Linked DNA regions of Homo sapiens: all the other regions are linked to region 1. The links are contacts of gene promoters, found by promoter capture Hi-C in blood cells and fetal thymus (Javierre and others, 2016). All regions are on one chromosome and are shown on one strand. The core of a region is centred on a gene start or on the middle of the fragment in contact, and the rest is flanking DNA. Distances in the headings are between cores, read along the strand shown.

The links. The method cuts DNA at HindIII sites, captures the fragments that hold promoters and counts their contacts. A CHiCAGO score of 5 or more calls a contact.
Region 2: a contact is called between a fragment that was not itself captured here and the fragment with the promoter of GJB6 in region 1, in 1 of 17 cell types (fetal thymus). The highest score is 5.4, in fetal thymus.
Region 3: a contact is called between a fragment that was not itself captured here and the fragment with the promoter of GJB6 in region 1, in 1 of 17 cell types (total CD4 T cells). The highest score is 5.8, in total CD4 T cells.

Annotation. Positions count from the first base shown.
Region 1 is chr13:20,230,041-20,234,938 of GRCh38, forward strand. GJB6 (gap junction protein beta 6) reads right to left here and starts at 2,279. Exons shown (of 5, transcript NM_001110219.3): 1 at 2,154-2,279; 2 at 1,342-1,465; 3 at 658-767. The HindIII fragment of the contact is 2,257 bases long and covers 1,684-3,940 here.
Region 2 is chr13:20,924,108-20,929,005 of GRCh38, forward strand. No RefSeq gene overlaps it. Among named protein-coding and RNA genes, the nearest start is that of LINC00367, 23 kb to the right of the region's middle. The HindIII fragment of the contact is 1,667 bases long and covers 418-2,084 here.
Region 3 is chr13:20,832,344-20,837,241 of GRCh38, forward strand. All of the region lies in intron 6 of XPO4 (exportin 4), which reads right to left. Among named protein-coding and RNA genes, the nearest start is that of EEF1AKMT1, 61 kb to the left of the region's middle. The HindIII fragment of the contact is 2,748 bases long and covers 514-3,261 here.

The DNA.
Region 1 (4,898 bases), core at 1,029-3,528:
AGACACTGGCTACACCCTGATCCCCAAATCAGTGGTTTAAAAAAAATCTCAGACTCTTTCTTCAATCAGGAAGAATAGATTTCTTTTGTCTCTAGAAATCTCAGGTCATCCAAGGGACAACCTGATAGTTGATTTTTAAATTTAGTGACAAAAAACTTCAGCAACTGTCCTGATAGAGTAACAGCTAGTGATAACAATGGGTCAGGGATTCATATATTTCAAAATTAACTCAATAAAAATGAAACGTTTCTGTCTGTGGAGTCTAGATGTAAAAATGGAAAACTCATGCAATTACGTATGTTTCTTACATCATTTAAGAATTCAAAGAGTTAAAAATTAATTTCCATTAAGTTAAACTTTCCTTCTCTGGGTCTTGTTAGCAATATATGTTTGTTCATTCAAGCAAACCTGTGTCCTTTCCAAACATTTAAGCTCAACTAGATTTAAATGACCCTGGGAATAAAAATGGAGCAGGCCCTCTGGGGTTCCAGGTCTATGCTCATGCACTAAGCAACTAAAACAGAAATCATAACCTATGGCAGGTGGCCATTAGAAGGTTATGCCCTCACAGACCAAGAAGCTTGGGTCAGAAATCACTTTCCCACAATTTTATCCCATTTAACATTTAAACTAATATATGCAAACTGCTCACAGCACCTGGAATATTCAAATTGAATTAAAGATGCATGAAGAGGGCGTACAAGTTAGAATTTTTCTTTCGCCATACAGAAATTGTTTAGCCAGATCTTCTGTACTTCTTTTCCTTCCTAACACTCAGAATTCAGAAGAGAAGACATAAGAAAAAAAGCATAAAGTCATCATTACCTGTATCAGAATTTGTTTAAAAAACAACCAGTGGGGCAGGTGAACTGACCAGCGTCTTCCCAGCTTTAGTCACTGCAGTGGCAATGAGGCGCTCTCCACACCCCCAGTTATGTGACAGGCTAGAGCCCTGGTGTTCTCTCTTCAGAACCCCCCTCTCCTCCTTGGCAAGCTTCAAGCAACACCCCCAAAGACGCTGCTGGATCCAAACAACAGACAAAGCTCTCCACAGGAGCAGTTCTGAGCAGCACCCTGCAATTCTAAGGAGACTGCATGGGGGCAGGACATTTTCTTCTAGAACACTGGTTAGATTCTGCTAGAACTGGGGCAAGAAAATAGCTGTATGGCATAAAGTCTACTTGAGGGAAAAGAACAACCCGGCACGGTTACGTTCAATCAGACACTAAACAGAGTGCACGCCCACCCAGGGGACACTGAGGTCGCTGGGCCAGTGTCCCCGCCTGGTTGCAGGTCCCTAACCCCTCCGGGAGTGCAGAGCTGCGGGCAGGCCACACTCACCCTGACCCTTCCTGCTCCCCAGGAAGGGAGGTCAGCCCCGTTTGCAAAACACAGGATGCCCGTGACACCGGAGACAGGTCTTCTTCACCGACAGGAAGTGCCTTCTGGTGCCTGCACGTTTTAACTAAGATGTGTCGCCAATTACTTTTAATTACTGTCGTCCACGCTATTGTCATCAGCATTTCACAAGTTTCTCGGAAGCCCATCACGCAGCCCATACCCTGCGGTTCTCCGGGGACTTATGCATCGGCCCAAGTTGAGGGTTTGTCTGAACTGAAACCCGCATCCTAGACCTGGCTTTCTTCTCCCCAAATCCAAGGGGACACCCCGGTGACCCACAAAAGCTTAGAAAATCCAACACGCAGCAAATGAAACGGGGGAAAGGGGCACCGGCCCTCACTCTGGCCTCTTAGACACACGATATGAAACCTTCATAAAACCTGTTGTACAAGTCAAAGGGGACCACGCTGGGGTAAAAGTCAAACCAGTCCATCCTCGTTCCTCTGCGTACAGAGAGAGGGTCCAGCGCGGGCGGCGCCCACTGCCATCGGGCCGGGGCCGGGGCGCGTGGACAGGAGGGTGCGGATAGAGGCAGATCGGGGGCCCGGTCGCCCCACGTGCGGCCAGACACCCATCCCGGCCGCGCTCTGCCGGCTCTGATCCGGTGCCAGACAGGAGCGACAGGGGCGAGGTGGGGACCAGCCGCCGACCTCACCTGTTTTGTTTTCTTGGAGGAAATTCCTCCGCTGGGGGGCCGAGGTGGCACCGCCCGCTCGCCCCCCGCAAGACCCAGCCGGTCCGCGCCCGCTTACCTGCTCTGCGGCCGGCGGCCCTGGCGCGGGCTCTGCGCGGGGCGGCGCCCTTCGCTCCGGCTGGGCAGGCAGGTCGGGCTCGGGCGCCGCCGGCTGTCGGGCTCTCGTCGGGTTTCGGGTGAAGGCCCCGGCTCCCACCTGCTGCGCCTTTTAACCGCGCCCCACCCCGCCTCTGCCCTGACGCGGCTCGGGCGGGCTGCGGGAGGCGAGCGCTGTCACTCGACGAGCCCCCCGCCCCCACCTACCCGGGGCGCACTAGCCGCTGGGCGCGGACCGTCCCCCTGAGGAGCAAGGAGTGCAGGACCGGGGCTGTCCCTCCGGGGCCGGATGCGCAGAGCGGGGACCTTTTTCCCGTGGCGGGGGCGCAGGGTGGGGGACCCCTAAGAAGTGCACAGTGCGCGGGGCCCTCTTTCCGGCCCTTGGAGGGAACGGGGTACCGGGGATGCAGGGGGTAGGGCTCTCCCTCGGGAGCGCAGAGGGCGGGCCCAGCCCCCTCTGCACGGGTGCAGGTGTGGGGCGCCTGCTCAGGCCCTCGAGGGAACTCTTCCTCCCTAGTGCACCCGTGGGGAGCAGTGTGAGGGGCAGGCTGTGTTTTTGCCAGGACACATCCTCAGTCTTTCTGGGTGATCCAGCCTTCTCATAGCCCGCGGGGTGCACAGACCTCTCCTATAGGAGCCTGGAGGTTCTTTATTAATTAATGACCACTTAGAGGAGGTACAGGGGTTGTTTTTATTAATTACCTCCATCCTTTGAAGACTCCTCCGGGGAAGCGGAGCAGGCCTTCCTCGGGACAGTGCACCAGGAGAGACCACATTGCCTCCCCGCTTTTCAGTCAAGACTAGAAAGCTCAGGGCCAGTACAGGGAGTGGTGCAAGGGCTGGTGGGGTGGAAACGTTGGAAGCTATTTAGGCACCTGGCTTTACAGGTTCAAACCTGTCACGCATCGGACAAAAGATGTGTGACTTGCTTATTCTACAAAACTGTTCGGTAATTAAACGTCCCCACCTAAACCATATGCCACTTGTTGGGTCATATTCTCCCACGAAACAATTAAGATGTCTGTTAAAGGTCATGGAATTTGAGCCAAGACTTCATAAAAATCCGCTTTCCAAAATATTTTATTTGAGGAGAACAAGGTTCTTAAAGAATTTGCCCAAGTCAAGTTTTAAAAACTTTGGGGAGGCCCCTGAAATGGCCTTGAACTTGGAGAGTGGAGAGACACAGAAATCTCTAGGCTTTTTAAATTTATTTATTTATTTATTTATTTATTTATTTATTTATTTATTTTGACTAAGTCTGGCTCTGTTGCCCAGGCTGGAGTGTGGTGGTGTGATCTCAGCTCATTGCAACCTCTGCCTCCCGGGTTCAAGTGATTCTCCTGCCTCAGCTTCCCGAGTCGCTGGGATTACAGGCCCGCACCACCATGCCTGGCTAGGTTTTGTATTTTTAGTAGAGCTGGGTTTCACCATGTTGGCCAGGCTGGTCTGGAGCTCCTGACCTCAGGTGATCCACCTGCCTCAGCCTCCCAAAGTGCTGGGATTACAGGCGTGAGCCACCGCGCCGAGCATCTCTAGGCTTTTTTGTTAGACATCCTCACACTGCCCAGATGTGCCCTATGCGGTAAATCTTGGGTGCTCTGTCCTGCCCCACACAATCTAACTGTGGACTTCCCAGTCTTCTCTCCATTCCTCTCCCAAACAGATGCTTCAGCCAGGCTCAGCTGTTTGCATAGTAAAATAATTTTTCTAAGCAGATTGTAAACTTCTTTGGGGATTATAAACAGTTTAAGCTTTTCTTCCTCTTCTTCTTCTTTTGCATTTCTACAATACTAAGTACTTTGCTCATAGTATGTGCTGCTCCATGAGTATTTGAATATTGCTTGGCAAAGCTGAACCAGCATAGCAGATAGTCCTGGAAATAGCTTTTGCTTTTTCTAAAGCATGCCCTGTTCTCAATCCTGCACCTGATTCCATGCAGTACTGTGTCTGAGCATTGACATCCTGGACCAGTGGAAATTGTTCTAGGACTGGTGCAGGATAGAACTTTCAAACCAAAGTTGTCACAGAGAATGTGTTGCATTTGCTCATGTGTGCAAAAATGAAACCATCTCATCACTGTGTAAAATATCTCTTTTTCTGTTCAGGTTATCTATATTAGTCTGCATGGCCTTAACATTGAACACTGTCCTTCAGTTTTTGCTACTCATCAGACAGTCTTGTTGCAGCAGAAATTAAATGTGGACTGTATAAAACTTAAGGACTTGATGGGATGCGCATTTGAAAACTGAAAATTAGTTGTCTTAGTCCATTTGTGTTGCTATAACAGAATACCATAGACTGGGTAACTGATAAAGAAAAGAAATTTATTTTTCAGAATTCTAGAGGCTGGGAAGTCTGATATCAAGATGCTCGCATCTGGCGAGGGTTTTCTTGCTGTGTCTTCCCATGGCAGAGGTGGAGGGGCAAAAGAATGAGAAGATAGGGAAAGAAAAGAGAGAGAGGTGGGGGTGGAGAGAGAGGAAGGGGTTCAAACTCATTGTTTTTTCAGGAACCCACTCTCAAGATAACTAACCCACTCTAGAGATCACAGCATTAATCCATTCATGAGGGCAAAGCCATCATACCTCCTCACCTCTTAAAAGTCCCTCCCATCTTTCAACACTGTTTCATTGGGGATTAAGTTTCCAACACATGGACTTTAGGGGACACATTCAAACCATAGCATTCTGTCTTAGCCCCCCAAATT
Region 2 (4,898 bases), core at 1-2,500, 690 kb after region 1:
TATGTGCTTTATACTATTTTTTATACTGTTATTCTACAAAAACTTGTGATCAATTTATGTAGAGACCAGGCCGGGAGCGGTTGCTCATGCCTGTAATCCTAGCACTTTGGGAGGCTGAGGCGGGCAGATCACTAGGTCAGGAGATCGAGACCATCCTGGCTAACACAGTGAAACCCCATCTCTACTAAAAATACAAAAAATTAGCTGGGTGTGGTGGCGGGCGCCTGTAGTCCCAGCTACTTGGGAGGCTGAGGCAGTAGAACGGCGTGAACCCGGGAGGTGGAGCTTGCAGTAAGCCAAGATCGTGCCACTGCACTCCAGCCTGGGCGACAGCGACACTCCATCTGAAAAAAAAAAAAAAGAAAGAAAGAAAAAAAGTTTATGTAGAGACCCCTTGTGGAGTTTACTGACATTTCAAGCTTCAGTTTCAAGCATTTGATATGCGCAAAATGGTGCTCAATACATACATTGAACATAAGCCTGCTCAGTATCTTTTTGTTGGTTTAACATGGAATCAACAAACAGTAGGTGCTCATATGGTTCAAGAACAGAGTAAGCCATACCATTCAAGGGTGTTTAGTTGTTTTGTTTTGTTTTGTTATATTTTGGAGAGTGGGAGACATAATGCATATTTGACTTCATAGAAATTTCTCAAATATTTCTTGTTTCTAAGTGACTGCGTAGGCTCAACAGAACCTTCCTGGAAAACATAGATATAAAAAGAAATCACTAAAAGAACACATTGCAGTTTGCAGGTGGCTTGACTGAAAAAAAAAAAGAAAAAGAAAACACCTACTTTCCTCTCCATGGAAACAGCATGCCAGAAAATTTTGTGGACCCTTGAAATGAGCACACATCTCACTTGCAAAAGCACAGCACCAGCGCCCTCTGCTGTTTCCTGGTTTGATTTAGAACTCAGAGAAGCTACAGTACTTTCTAGACTAAAATACCATGTAGAGTTCAGGATAATTATATTCTAGATTAGACATAGGCAAGCACATTTATATTAGTACATTCTGTAGTATATTCCAGAGTGAAGGAAATCAAATCATCAAATACATTTGCATCAGAATATTTCTGCATGCTCTCTTATTGTTTTAGTATCTGTTTTTGTTTCAACTATGATCATGTAACCTGTTATTGCAAAGAAATGACTTGCAACAGTTATCTATTTACATTTATATAGTATAAACTCCCGTGACCTAGAAGAGAAACATGCAAAAAAATCTACTCAACAAAATTTAACTGATCTCTGAAAAAGATATGCATGGAAGAGAGCAGAACAACTAAATTCCATTCAGGGAGTTCTAAAACCTTTTTTCCTTTTTCTGTATTTTCAGTAGATACTGGGTTTCACCATGTTGGCCAGGATGGTCTCAATCTCCTGACCTCGTGATCTGCCCGCCTCGGCCTTCCAAAGTGTGGGATTATAGGTGGGAGCCACCGCGGCTGGCCATGTGTGGGGTTTTATGGACGAGCTTGAGGAGGCAATGTCTGATTTACATAGGCACAAGAGGGCTGAGTGCGGTGGCTCACACCTGTAATCCCAACATTTTGGGAGGCCAAGGCGGGCGGATCACGAGGTCAGGAGTTCGAGACCAGCCTGGCCAATATGGTGAAACCCTGTCTTTACTAAAAATACAAAAATTAGCTGGGCGTGGTGGCAGGCGCCTGAAATCCCACCTACTCGGAAAGCTGAGGCAGAAGAATTGCTTGAACCCAGGAGGTGGAGGTTGCAGTGAGCCGAGATCGCGCCACTGCACTCGAGCCTGGGCGACCAAGCGAGACTCCGTCTCAAACAAACATAAGCACAAGAGATTGCTTGAACCAGGTGTGCCATTTGCAAAATTGAAATGATCTCTGAATCATTTAAATCAGCATAGTGTGTGAAGAAGCTGACCATCTCACCCTAATCTTTTATCATGAAGATGAGGTTTCTACCTGGCCAGCACCACGTTGTTGCCTGCTTCTTTACTGCACACATGGTTGACAAAGAAAAGAGAAGATGGATCCTCCATGTTGCACATGCCTGGCCCCCAGGTAGCTTTCTCCTATTAGCACAGCTGCAGGGATTCATCTGTGCAAGCTTTCAGCTTGCTTGTCTATGTCTGCAGCTCAATTTTACAGGCTGCTCTTTGTTAGGAAACAAACGATTTGGGGGCTGCTTTTCATTAAAAGGAAAGCCTTGCTGAGGACTCTTACCCTCACTATCTGCCTAAATAATTTCTTTCTAGCTCCTGTATCAATAACAGCTGCTATGTTATTGTTAGTGCTACAGGTTAGTTATCTGAATTAATCAGTAATATAATAAGAGGAAACTGTTATATGAAAAATGGGCATCCACTGGATAGTTTAAAACTAATGTTTTGGCTGGGTGTGGTGGCTCATACCTGTAATCCCAGCACTTTGGAAGGCCAAGGCAGGAGGATTACTTGAGGTCAGGAGTTTGAGACCATCCTGGACAACATAGTAAGATCCCATCTCTAGCAAAAAATGTGAAAATTAGCCAGGCACGATGGTGCAGCTGTAGTCCTAACTACTCAGGAGGTTGAGGTGAGCCCAAGATATTGAGGCTACAGTTAGCTATGATTGCACCACTATACTCTAGCTTAGGTGACAGGAAGACAGTGTCTCTTTAAAAAAATGAATAATAGGCTGGGCATGGCTCACACCTGTAATCCCAGCACTTTGGGAGACTGAGGCGGGCGGACCACCCAAGGTCGGGAGTTCGAGACCAGTCTGACCAACATGGAGAAACCCTGTCTCTACTAAAAAAAATACAAAATTAGCTGGGCATGGTGGTGCAATCCTAGCTACTTGGGAGGCTGAAGCAGGAGAATCGCTTGAACCTGGGAGGCAGAGGTTGCAGTGAGTAGAGATCATGCCATTGCACTCCAGCCTGGGCAACAAGAGCGAAACTCCGTCTCAAAAAAAAAAAAATTAAAATAATAATGTATGTGTGTTTTCTTGGTTGTTGTTGTTTTAAGACAGGATCTCACTCTGTTGCCCAGGCTGGAGTACAATCTCGTTGCCAGGCTGGGGCACAATCTCGGCTCACTGCAACCTCTACCTCCTGGGCTCAAACAATCCTCACCTCAGTCTTCCCACTAGCTGGGACCACAGGTGTGCACCACCATGACCAGCTAACTTTTTTTTTCTTTTTTTGAGACAAGAGTCTTGCTCTGTCACCCAGGCTGGAGTACAGTGGTGCGATCTCAACTCACTGCAGCATCCGCCTCCTGGGTTCATATGATTCTCGTGCTTCAGCCTCCTGGGTAGCTGGGACTATGGGTGTGCGCCACCGCGCCTGGCTAATTTTTGAACTTTTAGTAAAGACAGGGTTTCACTGTGCTGACCAGGATGGTCTCGATCTCCTGACTGCGTGATCCACCCACCTCGGCCTCACAAGGTCCTGGGATTACAGGCGTGAGCCACCGCACCTGGCCAATTTTTTGTATTTTTTTTTTTTTGTAGAGATGGGGTTTCACCATGTTGCCCAGGCTGGTCTCCTGAGCTCCAGTGATCCGTACACTTTGGCCTCCCAAAGTGCTGGGATTGCAGGCATGAGCCACCATGCCCGGCCTAAAATAATAATGTTTTGAGGGAAATTTCTTTAAATTATTTTTATCTTTAGCACCAGTTATTGAGTTCCTCATTTGCTCACTTTCTCTACTGGAACTGAGAAGCTGGGGTTTACTAAATCTATGCCTTGACAATACCAATTCAAACTCTTTTCAGTTCACTAAGATAAGGAACAAGATCCCCACGTGGAGAAATAAAGCACAATCATCAAAGACAAATTGTAAACATCATTGAAACTTACACAAGAAAATGTCACATAACATTAGCTTCTTCTTCAGACTTTGAAAAAACAATCACTTGTTGTTAAAATTTTTTTAATCACATGAAAAATTTAAAATTTAATTAAATTTAAAAATTTAAATTTAAAAAATATTTAAAATTTAATTAAATTTAAAAACTACTTAAAATTAATTAAATTTAAAATGTAATTAAAAATTTAAAAATCACATTGATTCCTATAGCACTTGAAATCTCTGATTGTCCAAGGACTAAACGTTATAAGGCTTTTTGATGAGCTAAGGAAATTTTTCTCTTTTATTTTTCCTAAATATCATTTACATCTATAAATGATGAGGTAAAAGTGTGAGATTGATTCCCTGCCCTGCGCTGCCCTGAGACAGGGTCTCGCTCTGTCGCTCAGGATAGAGTGCAGTGATGCGATCATAGTTCACTGCAGCCTCAACCTCTTGGGTGCAAGCAATCCTCCTACTTCAGCCTCTTGAGTAGCTGGGACCATAGGTGTGTGCCACCACACCTGGTTAATTTTTAAAAATATTTTTTATAGAGATGGGGTCTCCCTACATTGCCCAGGCTGGTCTTGAATTCCTGGGCTCAGTTGATCCTCCCACCTCAGCTTCCCAAAGTGCTGGGATTACAGGTGTGAGCCACCACACCTGGCCTAAACTTATAAAGTTTTAAAAATATATTTGACCTACTAAAATTTACTTATGTATTTATTTTATTTTATTTTATTTTATTTTTTTGAGACAGAATCTGGCTCTGTTGCCCAGGCTGGAGTGCAGTGGCGTGATCTCGGCTCACTGCAAACTCCGCCTCCCCAGTTCAAGCGATTCTCCTGCTTCAGCCTCCCGAGTAGTTGGGATTACAGGTGCCCACCACCATGCCTGGCTAATTTTTTTGTATTTAGTAGAGATGGGGTTTCACCATGTTGGCCAGGTTGGTCTCGAACTCCTTACCTCAGATGATCCGCCCACCTTGGCCTCCCAAAGTCCTGGGATTACAGGCATGAGCCACCATGCCTGGCCTGTATTTTATTTTTTTGAGACAGAGTTTCACTCTGTCTCCCAGGCTGGAGT
Region 3 (4,898 bases), core at 638-3,137, 600 kb after region 1:
TTATCCACTAACACTTTCAGTAAGGGTATCGTTTTGTGATTGTGAATGACACTCAAAAAAATAATTAAATAAGGCATACAGTAGCTACACATTATCTTCAAGCAAATATGGACAATCTGAAAATTTCCTTTGCCTATTCTTATAATTACTTTACAATATAGAAAGATCTTGTAGCAACAATGGGCATTTCACATAAGTAATAAATGCTTTACTCCCTTCATCTTTCCATACTATTTTTTACCCTACTTCATCAGTAAAACAAAGTTTCAGGAGCTACAGCAAGACCATTTTCTTTCTTAAATATTTAATCCCTTTCATTATTAAATTTTCTAACAACAAAAACTGCTACTTCTCCTGGCACAGCACAGAACCAACAACCCCAGTCTTATAGACAACACAGTCCAAGCAACCACAAATCCTTTGAAATACATGAGTGACCTTACCTGAATGTTTTCCCAAGCCTTGCCTCCAAATAGTAAAGGTTGGCTTTACTGGAAATCCAATTTAGGTGAAAGCTTCTGTATCCCATTACTTACTCTATAATCCAGTTAGCTTTCTCCAAGAGATTAAGTTAAAAAAAAAAAGTTTACCAAAACCAAATCAGATCCACAAAAATAGAATACCAATAAAAGGCAGTGTAACCAAACTAAAAAAAGAAGTATCACTGAAGCCAACATACCACACATACCTGCCAAACATTCTTGTTACAAAATGATATTGTCATTTATGATTAGCATTGCCAAAACCCTTAAGCATTTATGAACACCAGGTGAACTACTAGCCGAACTATATTTATAGTGAACAAACATCCGAAAACTGAGCTAATACTTCTGAACGGGCTTCTTTCAATAATTAAATAATAAATATATAATAATAAATATTTGCTGAGCATCTGTGCTAGGGCTCAACAATGCAGTGAGCAAAAGCATGGCCCATGCTTTCACGGAGCTTCGCGCAGTAGGTAAACAGACACTACTGTTGTCCCTCAATATCCGGAGGGGGACTGGTTCCAGGACCTCCCATGGTTACCAAAATCCACAGATGCTCTGATATAAATCCAGAGTCTCTGATATAAAATGGCATCATATTTGCATGTAACTTATAAACATCCCATATACTTTAAATCACCTCTAGATTAATTATAATACCCAATACCATGTAAGTGCTATGTACATTGTTGCACTGTTTTTAAAATTTGTATTTTTTTAATTGTTGTATTGTTATTTTTTAGTTATAATATTTTTGATCCTCAGTTGAATCCAAGGATGTGGAACCCACAAACCTGGAGGGCTAACCGTACTTAAATAATCTAAGGAATGAAAAATTACAGCTGAGAAGGGAGCCAAATGGGGAAAAAATCATATACAACATGCATAGGGAGAAAATAGCAAAAGAAAGCCAACCTGGTCTAGGCTGAAGTACAATTAGGTGATCAGGCAAAGAGAGAGGACCCAGGCAGAGAAGCAGTGTGTGCAAGGAACAAGGTAGAAGGAAAGCTGGCCTGTGAGTGCAGCTCTACCAGAAGAGCTATGAGAGGGAGGTGGTGATGAGACCGCCCCGGACCCCAGCGCCCACTATCAAATGGGGATGATGGTATGATGGAGGATCACAGGACCAGGACACTTTCTTTGCACAACAGTGATCTAAAACAGAATGAGAAGCAAGTGAATTTTGTCTCCAGAGTCTCAGAGTAACATGGGGCTACAAAGTGCAGAGGAATTCGCTCTCTGGGCCACAGAGTGATTTTTAACATCTACCAAATCACAGAAACTGTGGACTTTGCACCACTGGGTCTGGGTAGGTGGATACTTTCATAAATCACCTGCTGCACATAGAAAAGCTACATATAATAATCCTTAACAAATATAATGGTTTGCAGATAATACAATTATGTATATAATTCATTAGCATTAATAAGCAAGTTCAGCAAGATTACAGGATACAAGATCAACATACAAAAATCATTTGTATTTTTCTCTATATAGTGTGAAAATGAAATTTAAAAAACAATTTACAATTGAATAATAAAAAAATACTCACAAGCCTGGACAACACAGCGAAACTCAACCCCTACAAAAATCAGCCAGGCATCATGATGCGTGCCTATAGTCCCAGTTACTCAAGAGGCTGAAGTTGAGAGGATAGCTTGAGCCCAAGAAGTCGAGGCTGCCAAGAGCCATGATTACACCCCTGCACTCCAGCCTGGGCAACAGGGCGAGACCCAGTCTCAAAAAAAAAATGTACTTAGAATAAATTTAATAATCTTTTGCTCTGGAAACTATAAAACAGTGTTGAAAGAAATAAAAAAAAAAAACCTTTAATAAATAAATCCAGGCCAAGCCCAGTGGCTCATGCCTGTAATCCCAGCACTTTTGGATGCCAAAGCGGGAGGATCACTTGAGCCCAGGAGAGTTTGAGGACAGCCTGGGCAACATAGTGGGATCCTGCCCTACAAAAAAATTTAAAAATTAGCCAGGTGTGGTGATGTGTACCTGTGGTTCTAGCTACTTGGGAGGCTGAGGCAGGAGGACCACTTGAACTCAGAGGTCAAGGCTGCAGTGAGCCATGATCATGCCACTATACCTTAGCCTGGGTGACAGAGCAAGACCCTATCTCTATAAATAATAATTTTTAAAAATCAGAAAACTTAACTTAGTTTTTTGTTTGTTTCTGTTTTAAGAGACAAGGTCTTCCTCTGTTGCCCAGGCTGGGGTGCAGTGGTGCAATCATAGTTCAAGGTAACTTTGAACTCCTAAGCTCAAGCCATACTCCTGCCTTGGCCTCCCAAAGTGCTGAGATTCAGGTGTTAGCCACCATGTGCTGCCTCTACTTTCTTTTTAAAGGGTACAATGCCAGGTACAAATAGACAATAGTTGGAGGAAATACTGATTATTCAAAAAAAGAGAGGACAGAAGAAAATACTTCACAAGGGCTTTACATATATGTGCTTTAAAATTCCATCACTCTCCTTGCAATTCTATCAGTTTAAAAAAATAATGATAAAATAAAATTCCCTCATGCTGACTTCTACCACTGTGTTCCTCCATTTTGAAAGAAACCTAGACAAAGCTGGTCAAATCAGCACTTAATAGCTAAGAAGTATGGATCATCAAGGCAGGCAGTTCACACTACCACAGGGCTGCCTACCTCAACCACGCCCTGGGCTATCTCAACATCTATGTCATTGGCCTAACACCACAATATCACATTTTCTTTCTGAAATCCTGACTTCTCCCCTCAAGCAATAAACAGGTTCATCTAAGCTTAAAGCATAAAACAACATTTCCTTGGCACAAACCCCCATTCCCTTGAGCTGTCAGTTGATGCTCTTCGAAATATCTATATAGTTCAGTTGACCCTTGAATAACACAGGTTTGAACTGCACAGGTCCACTTGTACTTTCACTAGAAGTTACACCAAGTGTGCCTTCCTTTCCTTACCTCCCCTTCACCTCCTCCACTTCTGTCTCTACTATCACTGAGACAGCAAGACCAACCCCTCCTCTTCCTCCTCCTCCTGAGCCTACTCAACTAGAAGACGAAGATGAAGACATTTATGATTGATCCACTTATACTTAATGAACACTAAATATCATTTATCTTCCTTATAATTGTCTTAACAACATTTTCTTTTCTCTAACTTACTTTAAGAATATATTATAGTACATATAAAACATAAAATAAGTACCAACTGACCGTTTATGTTATCAGTAAGTCTTCCAGGCAACAGTAAGCTATTAGTAAAACGTTCTGGGGAGTAAAAAGTTATACTGGAATTTTTGACCGCATGGGGGTTGGTGTCTCTAACCCTCACATTGTTCAAGGGTCAATTGTACTTCACTCTATACTTCATCAATTACTAATTACTACCTGATCACTGAGATACGGCTTTTGCCCCTGTCATTCACATAAACAGACTTCCATATGACCAACTATGTTCTAACTGATATTCGGTGTAGATCAAAAACAATCTACATCTTACCTATCGGTAACAGACGATGTTGACTACCTGATTCCTTGAAACATCATCTATCTTTGCTTTCCAAACACTCCTTGCCTTGTTCTCCCATCCACTTGTCTTAATTGGCTTTCTTATTTTCTTTTGCTTCTTCCTGCTTTTTCACTACTGATGCACCTAAAGGTCCTGACATGGATCCTCTGCTCCTTCTTGGACCACCTCTCCTATTTCCTTAACTTCAATGGCCCCACTCTCCCACAACTTTATCTCCACCCCTAATCTCCCTCTATAATTCTACTAATGGTGCAGTTGACCTGTGTGAAGTGGGTTTCTACACCGTGACATGATGGGTATTTTTAAAGGCTTCATTAAGACATAATTCACACACTACGCAATTTACCCACTGAGTGTACAGCTCAATGGTTTTAGCATATTCACAGATGTGTGCAACCACGACCATGATCTAATCTGAGAACATTTCCATGGTACCAGAAAGACCCCATATGCTTTAGCAGTCACCTCCTACTTTGTTCCAATCACTCCAGTTCTAGGTAACCACTAACCTTTCTGTCTCTATAGATTTGCCCATCCTGGACATTTCATAAATATGTTATCATATAATTTGTGGTCTTTTGTGAATGGCTTTTTTCACTCAGTATGTTTTCAAAGTTTACACATGTTGTAGCATGTATCAGTAATTCATGTCTTTTTATGACAGGTAATATTCCCATTATATGGGTATACCACATTTTATTTATCCATTCATCAGCTGATGGACATTTGGGTTGTTTCTACTCATATAGTATTATGAATAGCCTATTCATATAGTACTGCTCTGAACATTCATGTACAAGTTTTTGTGTGGATGACTATTGATACTTTGGGCCCAATAATTGCTTGTGTGGGGCTGTCCCGTGCTTTGTAGGATGTTTAGGATGTTT